Linked DNA regions of Homo sapiens: region 1 is linked to region 2. Evidence: promoter capture Hi-C in human tissues and cell types (Jung and others, 2019). All regions are on one chromosome and are shown on one strand. Each heading gives the region's core, a stretch centred on a gene start or on the middle of the fragment in contact. The rest is flanking DNA. Distances are from core to core; before and after follow the strand shown. Region 1 overlaps ZNF563 (zinc finger protein 563). Region 2 holds the start of ZNF564 (zinc finger protein 564).

Evidence for each region. Contacts are between HindIII fragments. The study calls those that stand out against the background at their distance.
Region 1: a fragment that was not itself captured here is called in contact with the fragment with the promoter of ZNF564 in region 2 in 2 of the 25 tissues and cell types used here (liver and pancreas).

What each region holds. Positions count from the first base shown.
Region 1 is chr19:12,314,635-12,321,919 of GRCh38, forward strand. ZNF563 (zinc finger protein 563) reads right to left here. Exons shown (of 4, transcript NM_145276.3): 3 at 6,638-6,698; 4 at 2,843-5,199. The coding sequence ends at 3,960. Among named protein-coding and RNA genes, the nearest start is that of ZNF563, 15 kb to the right of the region's middle. The HindIII fragment of the contact is 6,161 bases long and covers 1-4,599 here.
Region 2 is chr19:12,549,277-12,556,566 of GRCh38, forward strand. ZNF564 (zinc finger protein 564) reads right to left here and starts at 2,206. Exons shown (of 4, transcript NM_144976.4): 1 at 2,054-2,206. The coding sequence starts at 2,056. LINC02926 (long intergenic non-protein coding RNA 2926) reads left to right here and starts at 2,450. Exons shown (of 2, transcript NR_187485.1): 1 at 2,450-3,593; 2 at 4,099-4,368. RefSeq lists enhancers at 843-1,345, 2,004-2,113, 2,179-2,473, 3,257-3,758, 3,759-4,258 and a silencer at 1,694-1,773. The HindIII fragment of the contact is 29,302 bases long and covers 1-6,976 here.

The DNA of each region.
Region 1 (7,285 bases), core at 269-2,768, 240 kb before region 2:
GGGGTTCATGACTTGGAAAGATTGCCTTACTCTGGTGCTACGTGGCAATGCAGCAGGTCATAAGATCAAACAAAGCCTCCTCTACTAAGTAAACAATCCGTGGGTCCTTGAAAACAAAAGCGAAACTTGCCTGCCCGTGTCCTGACAAAAACACACGAGGACTTGGTTCTACCACTGCTTCATTCCTGATGTGAATGAATACCTTGAAAAGAAGGGGCTGCCACTCAAGGCCCTCCTCATAACTGACAACGCTCCTGGCATCTCTCTTCTCTCTGTTATGCCGATAAAAATGGGGAAGTGATGTTCCTGCCTCCTAAAACTACATCACTGCTACAACTACTTGATCAAAGCATCATCAAGTGCCTCAAGGTGTCTTACACCCACTGGACTTTTGGAAGGATTTATGCTGTCTTGATAATAACCCTCACCATGTCATACAGGATTTATGGAAGAGCTTCCCAACTGCAGAAACGATTGTGTTTATTGCGGAGGCTGTAAATGCCCTACAGCTCAAGACAGCCAAAGTGTGTTGGAAGCCATTATGGAGTGAGGAAGTCAATGATTTCAGGCGCTTCTGCACTATCGATATGATAGTCAGAAATATCTTAAATGTAAGGAAAGTTGGTGGGGAAGGCTATCTCTGACACAAGTGAAGACAATGTTGAGGAACACACAGAAGAGCAAAGAAGAAACCTTTACTAACAAGGAACTAGAAGATATGCTGAAATCCTCTATAGATGATGATGATGATGATGTAGATTTAGAAGAGGCAGTGCCGCCAGGCGTGGTGGCTCACGCCTGTAATCCCAACAGTTTGGGAGGCCGAAGCGGGTGAATCACCTGAGGTCACGAGTTTAAGACCAGCCTGGCCAACATGGTGAAACCCCGTCTCTACTAAAAATACAAAAATTAGCTGGGTGTGGTGGCGGGCACCTGTAATCCCAGCTACTTGGGAGGCTGAGGCATGAGAATCGCTTGAACCCAGGAGGCAGTGTTTGCAGTGAGCCGAGATCGTGCCACTGCACTCCAGCCTGGGTGACAGAGTGAGACTCAGTCTCAATAAATAAATAAAGAGGCAGTGCCATAAGTGGTGGCTCATGCCTGTAATCCCAGCATTCTGAGAGGCCAAGGCAGGCAGATCACTTGAAGTCACAGGGAGTTCAAAACCAGCTTGGCAAACATGGCGAAACCCTGTCTCTACTAAAAATACAAAAATTAGCTGGGCATGGTGGTGCATGCCTGTATTCCCAGCTACTTGGGTGGCTGAGGCAGGAGGATCACTTGAACTTGGGAGGTGGAGGTTGCAGTGAGCTGAGATTGTAATCCCAGCTCCTCAGGTGGCTGATGCAGGAGGATCACTTGAACCTGGGAGGTGGAGGCTGCAGTGAGCTGAGATTGCACCACTGCACTTCAGCCTCAGCGACAGAGTGAGACTCTGTCTGAAAAAAAAAAAAAGAAGCAGTGCTATAGATTTTGATACTTGAAAAATCTGAAGGCTGGGTGTGGTGGCTCACCCTGTAATCCTAGTAATTTGGGAGGCCAAGGCAGGCAGATCTCTTGATTCCAGGAGTTCAAGACCAGCCTGGGAAACATGGTGAAACCTTGTCTCCACAAAAAACACAAAAAGTAGCCAGGCATCGTGATGTGTGCCTATAATCCCAGCTACTTGGGAGGCTGAGGTGGGAAGATCACTTGAGCCCAGGAAGTTGAGGCTGCAGTGAGCCATGCACTGTAGGGTGACAGAGTGAGATCTTGTCTTAAAAAAAAAAAAAAAGAAAAGAAAAAGAAAAAAAAAGAAAAATTGGAAGCAGTTTTAGGGCACCTACAGCTTCTACAAGGCGCAAGTGTTAAAGATTATCATCCTCAATTAAGATTCTTCCATGGAACAAAGCCTCCATGTCACCCCAGAGATTACATGCTCACAAACGTTGCAAAGTTTAAAAAAAAAAAAACTAGCTTCCTACAATGTTTCTAATTAAATATCTGCAAATATGAAGACAGCCTTCAATGCTTAAAGATCTTCAGTCCTCAAATTGAACAGATTCTGACATTAGTATTATTTAGACTGCTCCAAAAATTCAGTATCTGCAGTCAGAATCTGTTTCTTCCAATATAGTTGATCATGTTGACATCCTGTCAAGATTCGAGTTAGCCTGAGGTCTCACTGCTTATCTGTGGTGTCACACATCTAGCTGACTCAACACATCACAACATTAGGCACGATATTGCAATAATCATCATTACACTTTTGTTGGGTGAATGTTAACACATTTTCAGGTCATTAAACAAAAGCAATCTATGAGTGTTGAAAGAAAAGATTTATAATGCTCTAGGTGACATGTATTATGTGGGTGGGTCTGTACTGAATATGTGTAGGGTCTTTCTCATATCATGATTCACTAAACAATATAATAACAACTATTTACATAGCTTCTATGATGCATGATGTATTTTAACTAATCTACAGATGATTTAGAGTATACAGGAGGATGTGGGTAGGTTACATGCAAATATTTTTTATTGTTATTATTTTTTTGAGACAGGGTCTCATTCTGTTGCCCATGCTAGAATGCAGTGATGTGATTTTGACTCACCGCAACCTCAACCTCCCAGGCTCAAGCGATCCTCCCACCTCAGCTTCCCTAGTAGCTGGGACTACAGGTACATGTCACCACACCTGGCTAATTTGTGTATCTTCTGTAGAGACAGGGTTTTGCCACATTACCCAGGCTGGCCTCTAACTCCTGGGCTCAAGTGATCCACCTGTCTTGGGCTCCTAAGGTGCTAGGATTACAGAGGTGAGCAACTGTGTCTAACCCAAATATGTCTTTTCTTTCTTTCCTTTTTTTTTTTTTTTGTGTGTGTGACAGAGGTTGTTTTGCTCTTGCTGCCCAGGCTGGAGTGCAGTGGCGCGATCTTGGCTCACCGCAACCTCCGCCTCCCGGATTCAAGTGATTATCCTGCCTCAGCCTCCTGAGTAGCTGGGATTACAGGCATGTGCCATCACATCCGGGTAATTTTGTACCAAATATGTCATTTTTAAAAAAGGACTTGGCATGTGTCGATTTATGTATGCCCAGGGGGTGGTAGAACCACGCTCCTGCAAATATTAGGGGATAACTGTATTTGAAAGAAACTGAGGCTTAAAATTAAGGCTTTACTATGTGTTTACATTCATAGGGTTTATCTCCAATGAGAATTATTTCTATCTGAAATGAAATAACATTAAAGAATACTTCCCTACATTTCACACATTTATAGAGTATCTCTCCAGTGAGTCCTTTTATGTCTATGCAAGGACCTGAGAGAACTCAATGCTTTTCTACATTTCTTACATTCATATGACTTCTCTCCAGAGTGAATCCTTTCATGTACTTTTTTTTTTTTTTTGAGACAGGGTCTGGCTCTGTCGCCCAGGCTGGGGTGCAGTGCATCTTGGCTCACTGCAACCCCCACCCCTTGGGCTCAAGAGATCTTCCCACCTCAGCCTCCCAAGTAGCTGGGACTACAGGGGCATACCACCACACCTGCTACTTTTTCTATTTTTTGTAGAGACATGGTTTCACCATTTTGCCCAGGCAGGCCTCAAATTCCTGAGGTCAAGCAATTTGCCCACCCTAAGTGCTGGGATTACAGGCGTGAGCCACTGTGCCCAGCCTCATGTACTTTTAAGTTACCAAAATGACTGAAGGCTTCCCTACATATTTTACACTCACAGAGTTTTTCTGCTCTGTGAGTTGTTTTATGTTGACAATGGTGTTAAAAAAAAATCGATCACTTTCCCACATTCCTTATATCATACAGCATCTCTCCAGTGTGAGATATTTCATGATTTTGAAAGGAATAAAAATTATGAAAGGCTTTCCCACATTTACATTTATAGGGTTTCTGTCCAGTGTAAGTTTATTCATGATATCAAAGGGAACTGGAAATATAGAAGGCTTTATAATAGTTTACATTCATATTGTTTCTCTCCAGTGAGTCTTTTCATGTCTTTGACATACACTGGGATAAACAAAGGCTTTCCCACATACCTTGCATTTATTCGGCCCATCTCCCGTATGCATTACCATATGTCTTCGAAAGCTTGAGCTATGAGATAACGCTTTCCCACACTGCTTGCATTCATAGGGTTTCTCTCCACTGTGAGACTTTTCGTGTCTTTGACATACACTAGGATAAACAAAAGCTTTCCCACATATCTTGCATTTATGAGGTCCACCTCCAGTGTGCATTATCATGTGTCTTCGAAAGCTTGAGCTATGAGATAACGTTTTCCCACACTGCTTGCATTCATAGGGTTTCTCTCCAGTGTGAATTCGTTCATGATATCGAACTAAACTGGGACGATCAAAGCCTTTCCCACATATCTTACATTTATGAGGTCGATCTCCAGTGTGCCTTTTCATGTGTATCTGAAAGCTTCCAAGATGATGAAATGTTTTCCCGCATTGCTTACACTCATAGGGTTTCTCTGCACTGTGAGTGGTTTCATGTCTTCGAAGGGAACTGGAAACACTGAAGGCTTTCCCACACTGTTTACATGTATATGGTTTCTCTCCAGTGTGAGTTCTTTCATGTCTTATATAGGAACTGGAATCAGGCAAGGCTTTAGAACACTGCTTACATTCATACGGTTTCTCCCCAGTGTGCATTCTCTCATGTCTTCGATAGGAACTGTAAAAAGGAAAGGCTTTAGAACACTGCTTACATTCATACGGTTTCTCTCCAGTGTGAGTTCTTTCATGCATACGTAATAAACTGGGCCAAAAAAAAGCTTTCCCACACAACTTACATTTATAAGGTCTATTTCCACCTTGCACTACCATGTGTCTTCGAAGGTTTCTACGAGAACTGAAGGTTTTTCCACATTCCTTACACTCATAGCGTTTCTTTCCAGTGTGAGGCCTTCCACGCGACTGAAAGGAGTGATGGTAACTGAAGGCTTTCCCACGTTGTTTATGTGTATGTGGCTTCTCTCCATATTCCTGATACTCATGTGGTTTGTGTCCAGAATCAACTCTGATGTGGCTATTAAGGGATAAATGACCCATTATGACTTCTTCACACTCAGCGCTTTGACATGGATCTTCTCCAGGACAAATGCTGTTGTTCACAATACTATCTCGAATGAGGCTAAATGTTTCTCCACACTGACTACTGTCTTTACTTTCACTGAATCTCTCTACCATATGACATCTGTAAAAAATGAGTAGTACGTTACTAAATAGTTGTTTCTAAATGATTATTTATTTATGTGTATTAATAGGTATTGGATGTACTTTTTTTTTTTTTTCCCTGAGATGGAGTCTTGCTCTGTCACCCAGGCTAGAGTGCAGCGGCACGATCTCGGCTCACTGCAATCTCTTCCTCCCGGGTTCAAGCGATTCTCCTGCCTCAGCCTCCCAAGTAGCCGGGATTAGAGAGGCATACGCCACCACGCCCAGCTAATTTTGTATTTCTAGTAGAGACAGGGTTTTGCCATGCTGGCCAGGCTGTTCTCGAACTTCTGACCTCGTGATCCACCCCCCCTTGGCCTCCCAAAGTGCTGGGATTACAGAAGTGAGTCACTGCGCCTGGCCAGATATACCTTTTTATCATTACCATGCAAAGTGTAGGCTTCATGCCCTGTTTGAACATGAATGAACTGAATGCTATGCAAGACAACCCAACACCAGCTGGGTTTTTTTTTTTTCCTTTTCTTTTTAATTAATTAATTTATTTTTTGAAACAGTATCTTGCTTTGTCACCAGGCTGGAGTGCAGTAGCAGAACGATGGTTCATGCAACCTTGACCTCCTGAACTCAAGTGATCTACCTACTTCAGCCTCATGAGTAGCTGGAACCATAGGTGTGCACCAACACACTTGGCTAATTTTTTTTTTGAGACGGAGTCTTGCTCTGTCGCCAGGCTGGAGTGCAGTGGCGCAATCTCGGCTCACTGCAACCTTCGCCTCCTGGGTTCATGCAATTCTCCTGCCTTGGCCTCCCAAGCAGCTGGGGTTACAGGTGCATACCCCCATGCCCAGCTAACTTTTGTACTTTTGTAGAGACAGGGTTTCACTATGTTGGCCAGGCTGGTCTCAAACTCCTGACCTCAAGTAATCTGCCTGCCTCAACCTCCCAAAGTGCTGGGATTACAGGCATGAGCCACCATGTCCAGCCTCATATGTAAATTCTTATAAAATGTTTTAGGAGGAAATTTTTTAAGAATAAATAAATTTAGGCTGGTGCAGTGACTCACACCTGTAATCCCAGCATTTGGGGAGGCCAAGGCAGGCAGATTGCTTGAGCCCAGGAATTCAAGACCAGCCTGGGAAACATGCCAAAACCCTGTCTCTACAAAAAATACAAAAATTAACGAGGTGTGGTGGCTTGCACGTGTAGTCCTGGCTACTCAGGAGGCTCTGGTGGGAGGGTCACATGAACCTGGGAGGTCGAGTCTTCAGTGAGCCAAGATCATGCCACTGCACTCCAGCCTGGGCAACAGAGCAAGGCCCTGACTAAAAAAAAAAGTTAATTTAAAAAATTAAAAAATAAATTTAAGCTGGACTTGTTCATTTTCTTTGTTTTTAAAATTTCCTTTTACTCTGAGAATCACTTCAGAAACATAACTTTCTCCTGTGAGTGCAAATTACCTTAGATTTCTCCTAGGATTTTTGTACTGATCTTCAGTATTCTGTTCTTCCCATATCATTCCTAAAAGGGAGACCCAGAAAATCACTATACATTATTAGAAAATTATATAAAACAGTAAGATTTTATGTATACTGCAATCATACATGATTCGTTCATCAAACTACAGTTAATTCTGTACAGTTTGGGGGTGGAGGCAGAGTCTCACTCTGTTGCCCAGGCTGGAGTGCAGTGGCACGATCTCGGCTCACAGCAACCTCCGCCTCCTGGGTTCAAGCGATTCTCCTGCCTCAGCCTTCCGAGTAGCTGGGACTACAGATGCGTGCCACCACAACCAGCTAATGTTTGTATTTTTATTGGAGACGGGGTTTCACCATGTTGGTCAGGCTGGTCTCAAACTCCTGACCTCAAGTGATCTTCCCACCTCAGCCTCCCAAAATGCTGGGATTACAGGCATGAGCCACCATACCCGGCCTTACAGTTGATTCTTGAACAACACATGTTTGAACTGCACAGCTCCACCTACATATGAATTTTCTTCAGTCTCTGCTACCCCTAAGACACCAAGATCAATCCCTCCTCTTACTTAGCCTTCTCAATGTAAAGATAAGGATAAAGACCTTTTAATCATACACTTAATGAATAGTAAA
Region 2 (7,290 bases), core at 956-3,455:
CAAGGGTTTACAAACCCAGGGAGAGGCAATGCTGACCTGGAATACAGACATTTATCTGATTCCAATGTCAGGTGAGGTCACCCTATCCCCTAGGACATCTCCCAGCCCCACCCTGGCTCACTGAGTGCTCAGTGACCAACCTCCCTGAAGACAGTGAATTGTGCCCTGCTCACTCTGCCCCAAGCGCATTTTAACTTTCAGGTTCTCGCACCATTTCAATGGGGCAGGTTTTCCTTCTCCTTTGAGATAGTTTTCCTCCCTTCACTAGACTAAAAACAATCCAGAGGTCAGGAATCATTTGTGTCTTTTCCTCTCAGTAACAGCCTAAGATTGGGTAACCATCAATGTGTCCCTAAGGAACGGAAACTGGGGTTGAGGAAGAAAAGCTGAGCGTCCCAAAGGGTAAACTTTTCAGAGGAAGGGGATACCGGGAGACTCCTCCCACCTCAGGGCATACAGCTGCTCCCGTGAGAGGCCCCACCCCTACACCTTAAGCTGTCCTCTGGGAGGAGTGACCCAGGGGTTGATAATCACTAGATCCTCCAAGAGAAGTGGCAGCTGTGGGTATCCTGGGTCAGGCCCAGGCAGTTCTGAAAATCAGGACCAGGAAAAGATAGAGGGCCACATCACCTTGTAAAGTTTCCAAAGGGGAAACTCCACCCAAAGACATTCTGATTAGGCGTCGGGGCTTAGGAAAGATAAAAGGAGGGGAAGCACAAAAATTTTTTTACCACGGCCGGGCGCGGTGGCTCACGCCTGTAATCCCAGCACTTTGGGAGGCCGAGGCAGGCGGATCACCTGAGGTCGGGAGTTCGAGACCAGCCTGGCCAACATGGAGAAACCCTGTCTCTACTAAAAATACAAAATTAGCCGGGCATGGTGGCGCATGCCTGTAATCCCAGTTACACGGGAGGCTGAGGCAGGAGAATCGCTTGAACCCAGGAGGTGGAGGTTGCAGTGAGCTGAGATCGCGCCATTGCACTCCAGCCTGGGCAATAAGAGCGAAACTCTGTCTCAAAAAAAAAAAAAAATTTTACCGTAGAGTGTCAGGTTCTTATTCTCCGTTTCCCTCTCAGGTTACAAGTACACAAACAAGAGGCCGGGCGCGGTGGCTCACGTCTGTAATACCAGCATTTTGGGAGGCGGAGGTGAGCGGATCACCTGAGGTCTGGAGTTTGAGACCAACCTGGCCAACATGGAGAAACCCAGTTTCTACCAAAAATACAAAAAGTAGCCGGTCGTGGCGGCGCATGCCTGTAATCCCAGTTACTCAGGAGGCTGAGGCAGGAGAATTGCTTGAACCCGGAAGGCGAAGGTTGCAGTGAGCTGAGATCTTCCCACTGCACTCCAGCCTGGGCGACAGAGCGAAACTCTGTCTGAAAAGAAAAAAAAAACAACAAACAGAAAACAAATCCTTTCAAAAGAGTATGGTGAAAGAAACTATAAACAACTAAAATACTGTGTCTTAAATGTCAAACAAAAAACAGCTGATAATGTTGATTTGGCGAGGGGAGGTCACCTTTGGGAATGCGGGGAAGGAACCGGAAATTTAGGCATTTATTTCCAGCCCCAGAAAAAGCTAGGCTAAAAAAAACGGGAGTCGTAGGTTTGAGATTCTTTTTCCAGTACGTTTGGAAGACTCGGAGGAAGACCAGTCCCCCGGAAAAAAAGACGATGTACTGGGAAGGCCACAGCCCACAGCTCTTCCCATGCACGAACCGCACACCCGAGACGGGATTCCGCCTTATGACCCTCCCGTGTCCCAGTACAAACAATCTGGAGAGAGGCGGGGCTGCGGGCGCGGAGCTGCCCAGACAGGGCTCCGAGGCCGAGGCCGCAGTCGCCGCGCAGGGACGGGACAGGACGCCTGGGGTACTGGCTACGGCCCAACCCACCCTGCGGCCGAGGGGACAGAGGGCCGAGCTGCGCCAGGGAACTCGGGTCCCAGACCCTGGAGTCGCTGCAGGGAGGCCAGGGTGCTTCCACAGCCGGTTCCGGCCGGTTCCCACAAGCCCCTCCCCCAGTCTCCAGGCGCCCGGCCCCGCACACGCACCATTTCCTGGCTTCCAGGGTGTCCCGGGGTCCTGCCTACGGCTCTCTCCGGCCTGTGCAGGTCCCAGCGCGCCAGACGCTGCGGTGGAGCCACCGGGGCCACTGGAGAAGCGGAGACCGGAACCCAAACGCAGCGGACACGAAACAGGAAGACCCCGCGGAGTTGTTGAACATTGCCCCTGTCCCCCTTGCAGAGTTCCTGATTGGATGGTTTGCAGGTTCCCGCCCCAGTGCCCCTGATTGGGTGATGATTCAAGTCCTGCCCCCTTGGTACTGAGTGACAGGAGAAGCAATGCGGTATGTGGCTGAGTAAAGACAGATTGACAGGGTCTTGGCCACTGCCCTTCGCGGGCCGGGCTTCCTCCTTCTGTAACCTTCTGTGCCGGGGAGGATATTTGCATTTAAGCAGAAAGTGTTTCAGGCTCTGCAGAGGTGACACTGGCGTGTTTCTGCACTCAGGGTGCCCTTCCTGCCTTTTCCTCCCGGACACAGAGTCACAAGTGTGCACAGGGAATGACAGACTCGGCGTCCAGTGGAGCCATCCCCTGGCCTCGGAGTAGGAGGCGCGCCCAGGCCAGGCCAGACCACAGTGTAACAGGAGGGAGGAGGGCTTGCTTCTTTCAGGCAAGAAAATTAAAACGGACAAAGAAATAAAAGTATTAAATGTATAGGAAAAACTGGAGTTTTTATGACAGCGATCATCTATAAAGAAACCAAGAGAAGTAAGCAAACATTTGAACTAGCTCAGACAAGCAGCCTGCTTCACCCGCAGTTCACAAGGAAAACCCACAATCATAACGTTAAAAATATTCCCAAGCGCCGGGCGCGGTGGCTCACGCCTGTAATCCCAGAACTTTGGAAGGCCAAGGTGAGAAAATTGCTTAAGGTCAGGAGTTCAAGACCAGCCTAACCAACATGGTGAAACCCCATCTCTACTAAAAATACAAAAATTAGCCAGGCGTGGTGGCAGGTGCCTGTAATCCCAGCAACTCGGGAAGCTGAGGTACGAGAATCGCTTGAACCTGGGAGGGGGAAGTTGCAGTGAGCCGAGATAGCGCCATTGCACTCCAGCCTGGGCGACAGAGCGAGACTAAAAAATGAAATATGAAATGAAATGAAATAATGAAATGAAGAAATGAAATATAAAATAAAATAATCCCAAGCTTGGGACCCAGACTCTAACTGCTGAAATGGAACCCCAGTGTGGATCAGAACCTGGTGATGAGACAGGGACACTTAAGAATTCAACTTTGGGAGCTCAAGGTGCCCTCCAGTCCTCTCCTCACAGTGTGGAAACACTCTTTCCTTCAAAACCTTCATTTGTACCAGCAGGAAACTCTCACCCGGAGTCAATGTAAAGTCGTGACCTAAATAAATTGTCATGTTCCCAAACCTTTTCTCCAGGGGACAATGCAAACAAGTTTTTCACTGAGTCTGACCCTCACAGATTTTCTTCATGTATACAAATTACAGCCTGACTCAGCGACCCCATGAATGCTAAAACCAAAACACTGTCCAGGAAATGGCCCCAGGCGCCAAAGGTACAACCTCAGAAAAGACAGAACCCTCCACCCCCAACCCAACCACATCTGCACATGGGTCTCCTGCTTTTCACAGCTCTGCAGCTTCTCAGAATCCACATTCCTGGCCAGGCGCGGTGGCTCACGCCAGCACTTTGAGAGGCCCAGGCGGGCGGATCACCTGAGGTCAGGAGTTCGAGACCAGCCTGGCCAAATGGTGAAACCTCGTCTATAGTAAAAATACAAAAATTAGCCGGGCGTGGTGGCGCGTGCCTGTAATCCCAGCCACTCGGGAGGCTGAGGCAGGAGAACCGCTTGAACCCGGGAGGCAGAGGTTGCAGTAAGCCCAGACTGCGCCACTGCACTCCAGCCTGGGTGCCAAAACAGTGAGACTCTGCCTCAAAAAAATAATAAAAGTAAAAAATAAAATTAAAATTAAAAAAAGAATCTGCACTCCTGAGCAGCTGGAGGCCACCTGCAAGGGCGGGCAGGCTGCCCAAGAAGCACCCTTTCCCTCTCTTTGCAGGCTCCAGACTGGTCTCAGGCTCTCCTGCCCACTGCAGTTTATTCACTTGCTTCTCACCAACACTGATCCACTTAGGTAAGAAAAAAGACCTTCAATCCCCTTTGCTGTTTGTTTGTTTTTAAGAAACTAGCAGAGTTCCTGCTTTCCTTCTGTGGTTATGTATAAGCTGGAAGACAAAAAATTCTAAAATACTTTATATGGATTTTAAAACTGGCAAGTAATGATTCCTTTGAGAAAACAAAGATATCAGCTATGCTATTATGATTTATACATTGGTTTCCATCCATGCTTCCTGACTCATAACTCCCATAGTCCTTGTTACAGTAAACAGAAACTCTCTCTCTCTGACCTTCTCCTGCCCCCCATTCACCTGTCCACTGCAGAACTCTAATGTGATCGTGGGTCATAAGACTCTCACTCCAAAGAGTGTCCTGTCCTGTACGCTGGGGAAAGGAATGCTACACAGAAGCCAAAAATTATCTGGACAGGGGTTGGATGCAGTGGTTCACGCCTGTAATCCCAGCACTTTGGGAGGCTGCGGAGGGAGGATTGCTCGAGCCCAGGAATTCAAGACCAGCCTGGGAAAGATGTCGAGACCCCATCTCTATGAAAAATAAATAAAAAGGCCGGACGCGGTGGCTCATGCCTATAATCCCAGCACTTCAGGAGGCTGAGGTGGGCGGATCATGAGGTCAAGAGATCGAGACCCTCCTGGCCAACATGGTGAAACCCCCGTCTCTACTAAAAATACAAAAATTAGCTGGGCGTGGTGGCGCGTGCCTGTAGTCCCAGCTACTTGTAGTCCCAGCTACTTGGGAGGCTGAGCCAGGAGAATCACTTGAACCCAGGAGGCAGAGGTTGCAGTGAGCCGAGATCACTACTGCACTGCAGCCTGGCCGACAGAGTGAGACTCCGTCTCAGAAAAAAATATTTTTCTTTTTATGTATTATTATTATTATTTTGAGACGGAGTCTTGCTCTGTCGCCAGGCTGGAGTGCAGTGGCGAGATCTCAAGTTGCTCACTGCAACTTCCGACTCCTAGGGTTCAAGCGATTCTCCTGCCCCAGCCTCCTGAGTAGCTGGGATTACAAGTGTGTGCCACTAAGCCTGGCTAATTTTTGTATTTTTAGTAGAGATGGGGTTTCACCATATTGGCCAGACTGGTCCTGAGCTCCTGACATCAAGAGATCCACCCGCCTCCGCCTCCCAAAGTGATGGGATTACAGGCAAGAGCCACTGTGCCCAGCCTAATAATTTTTTGTCTCCTTTCTTTAAAACTGTTTTAGGTGTGGCGTCACATGGCGTGGCAGCACATGGTGTGGTGGTACATGCCTGTAATCCCAGCTACTCAGGAGGCTGAGGCAGGAGAATCATTGAACCCACCAGGCAGAGGTTGCAGTGAGCCGAGATCTTGCCACTGCACTTCAGCCTGGGTGACAGAGCAAGACCCTGTCGAAAGAAAGAAAGAAAGAGAGGGAGGGAGGGAGGGGGAGAGAGAGAGAAAGAAAAAGAAAGAAAGAGAGAGGAGAGGAGAGAAAAGAAAGAGAGAAAGAGGGAGGGCCGGGTGCAGTGCGGTGGCTCACGCCTGTAATCCCAGCACTTTGGGAGGCCGGGGTGGGTGGATTGCCTGAGCTCGGGAGTTCGAGACCAGCCTGGCCAACATGGCGAAATCCCGTCTCTACTAAAAATACAAAAAATTAGCTGGGCGTGGTGGCGGGCGCCTGTACTCCCAGCTACTCGGGAGGCTGAGGCACGAGAATCACTTGAACCTGGGAGGTGGAGGTTGCAGTGAGTCAAGATCGTGCCACTGCACTCCAGCCTGGGTGACAGAGTGAGACTCCATCTCAAAAAAAAAAAAAAAAAGAGAGAGAGAAAGAAAGAAGGGAGGGAAGGAAAGAGAGAGAAAGAGAAAGAAGAAGGAAGGAAGAAAGAAAGAAAGGAAGGAAGGAAGGAAGGAAGGATTATACCAGTGCTGGGGAGGACATAAGAGAAACTGGATTCTACTCCTACTCCTACTCCTACTTTGGTGGTGGAAATGTAAAATGGTACAGAGAGCGCGGTGAGACGCAGAGTGCGGCCGGCTTGCCGAGTCCCAAGCAGGCAGGTGAGCTGGAGGGCGGGGATGTCCCGGGACAGGCCGCGGCCCCTGCCCCGCAGACACCGGGGCCCTCGCTGTGCCGGGCACAGACGAAGCCCCAGCCGAGACGCAGCGCCTCCAGGTGGCTGCGGGAGCGGCGGGCGGGAAGCGGGGCGGTCGCGATGGGGCGTCAGGGTGCAGAGGGCCCTGGAGGCGGTCTAGGGACACAGGCTCGGCCGCCTTGCTTTAGACCAGGAAGCCGCGCAGATCCGGGACCTGGGGGACCTCTCTGTCCCAGTGGGGCGAGACCTACCTAGCCCTGACGATAGCGGAGAATAGCCTTAACCGGCCTGGAAGGTGAACGAGTCCCCTGACTACGAGTGGAACGATTAGCGGCCATGCGGCTGTTCGCCTTCGTTCTACCAGACCTTCATGTGGAAGAGAGAAATGGTAAAATGGCCTGGCACATGTGGTCCTGGGAAATCCCCAGCACCCTTTGGGAAGATTTACTGACCGTCTATAGAAGGCCTGTGTAGGCCAGGCACGGTGGTGGCTCACGCCTGTAATCACAGCACTTTGGGAGGCCAAGGCGGATGGATCACCTGAGGTCGGGAGTTCAAGACCAGCCTGACCAACATGGTGAAACCCGGTCTCTACTAAAAATACAAAAATTAGTCGGGCGTGGTGGCGGACGCCTGTAATCCCAGCTTCTCGGGAGGCTGAGGCAGGAGAATCACTTGCAGTGAGCCGAGCTCGCACCATTGCACTCTAGCCTGGGCAACAAGAGTGAAACTCCAGCTCAAAAAAAAAAGAAGAAGAAGGCCTGTGTCTATAATAGGAAAAAGCTGCTCAACTTCTCCCTCAACCTAAAATTTTTTTTATTTATTTAATTTTATTTGTTTGAGACAGAGTCTTTCTCTGTTGCCCAGGCTGGAGTGCAGTAGCGCAATCTTAGCTCACTGCAACCTCCGCCTCCCGGGTTCAAGTGATTCTCCTGCCTCAGCCTCCCAAGTAGCTGGTACTACAGGCCACACCACCACGCCCGGCTAATTTTTATATTTTTAGTAGACGGGGTTTCACTATGTTGGTCAGGCTACTCTCGACCCCCTGACCTC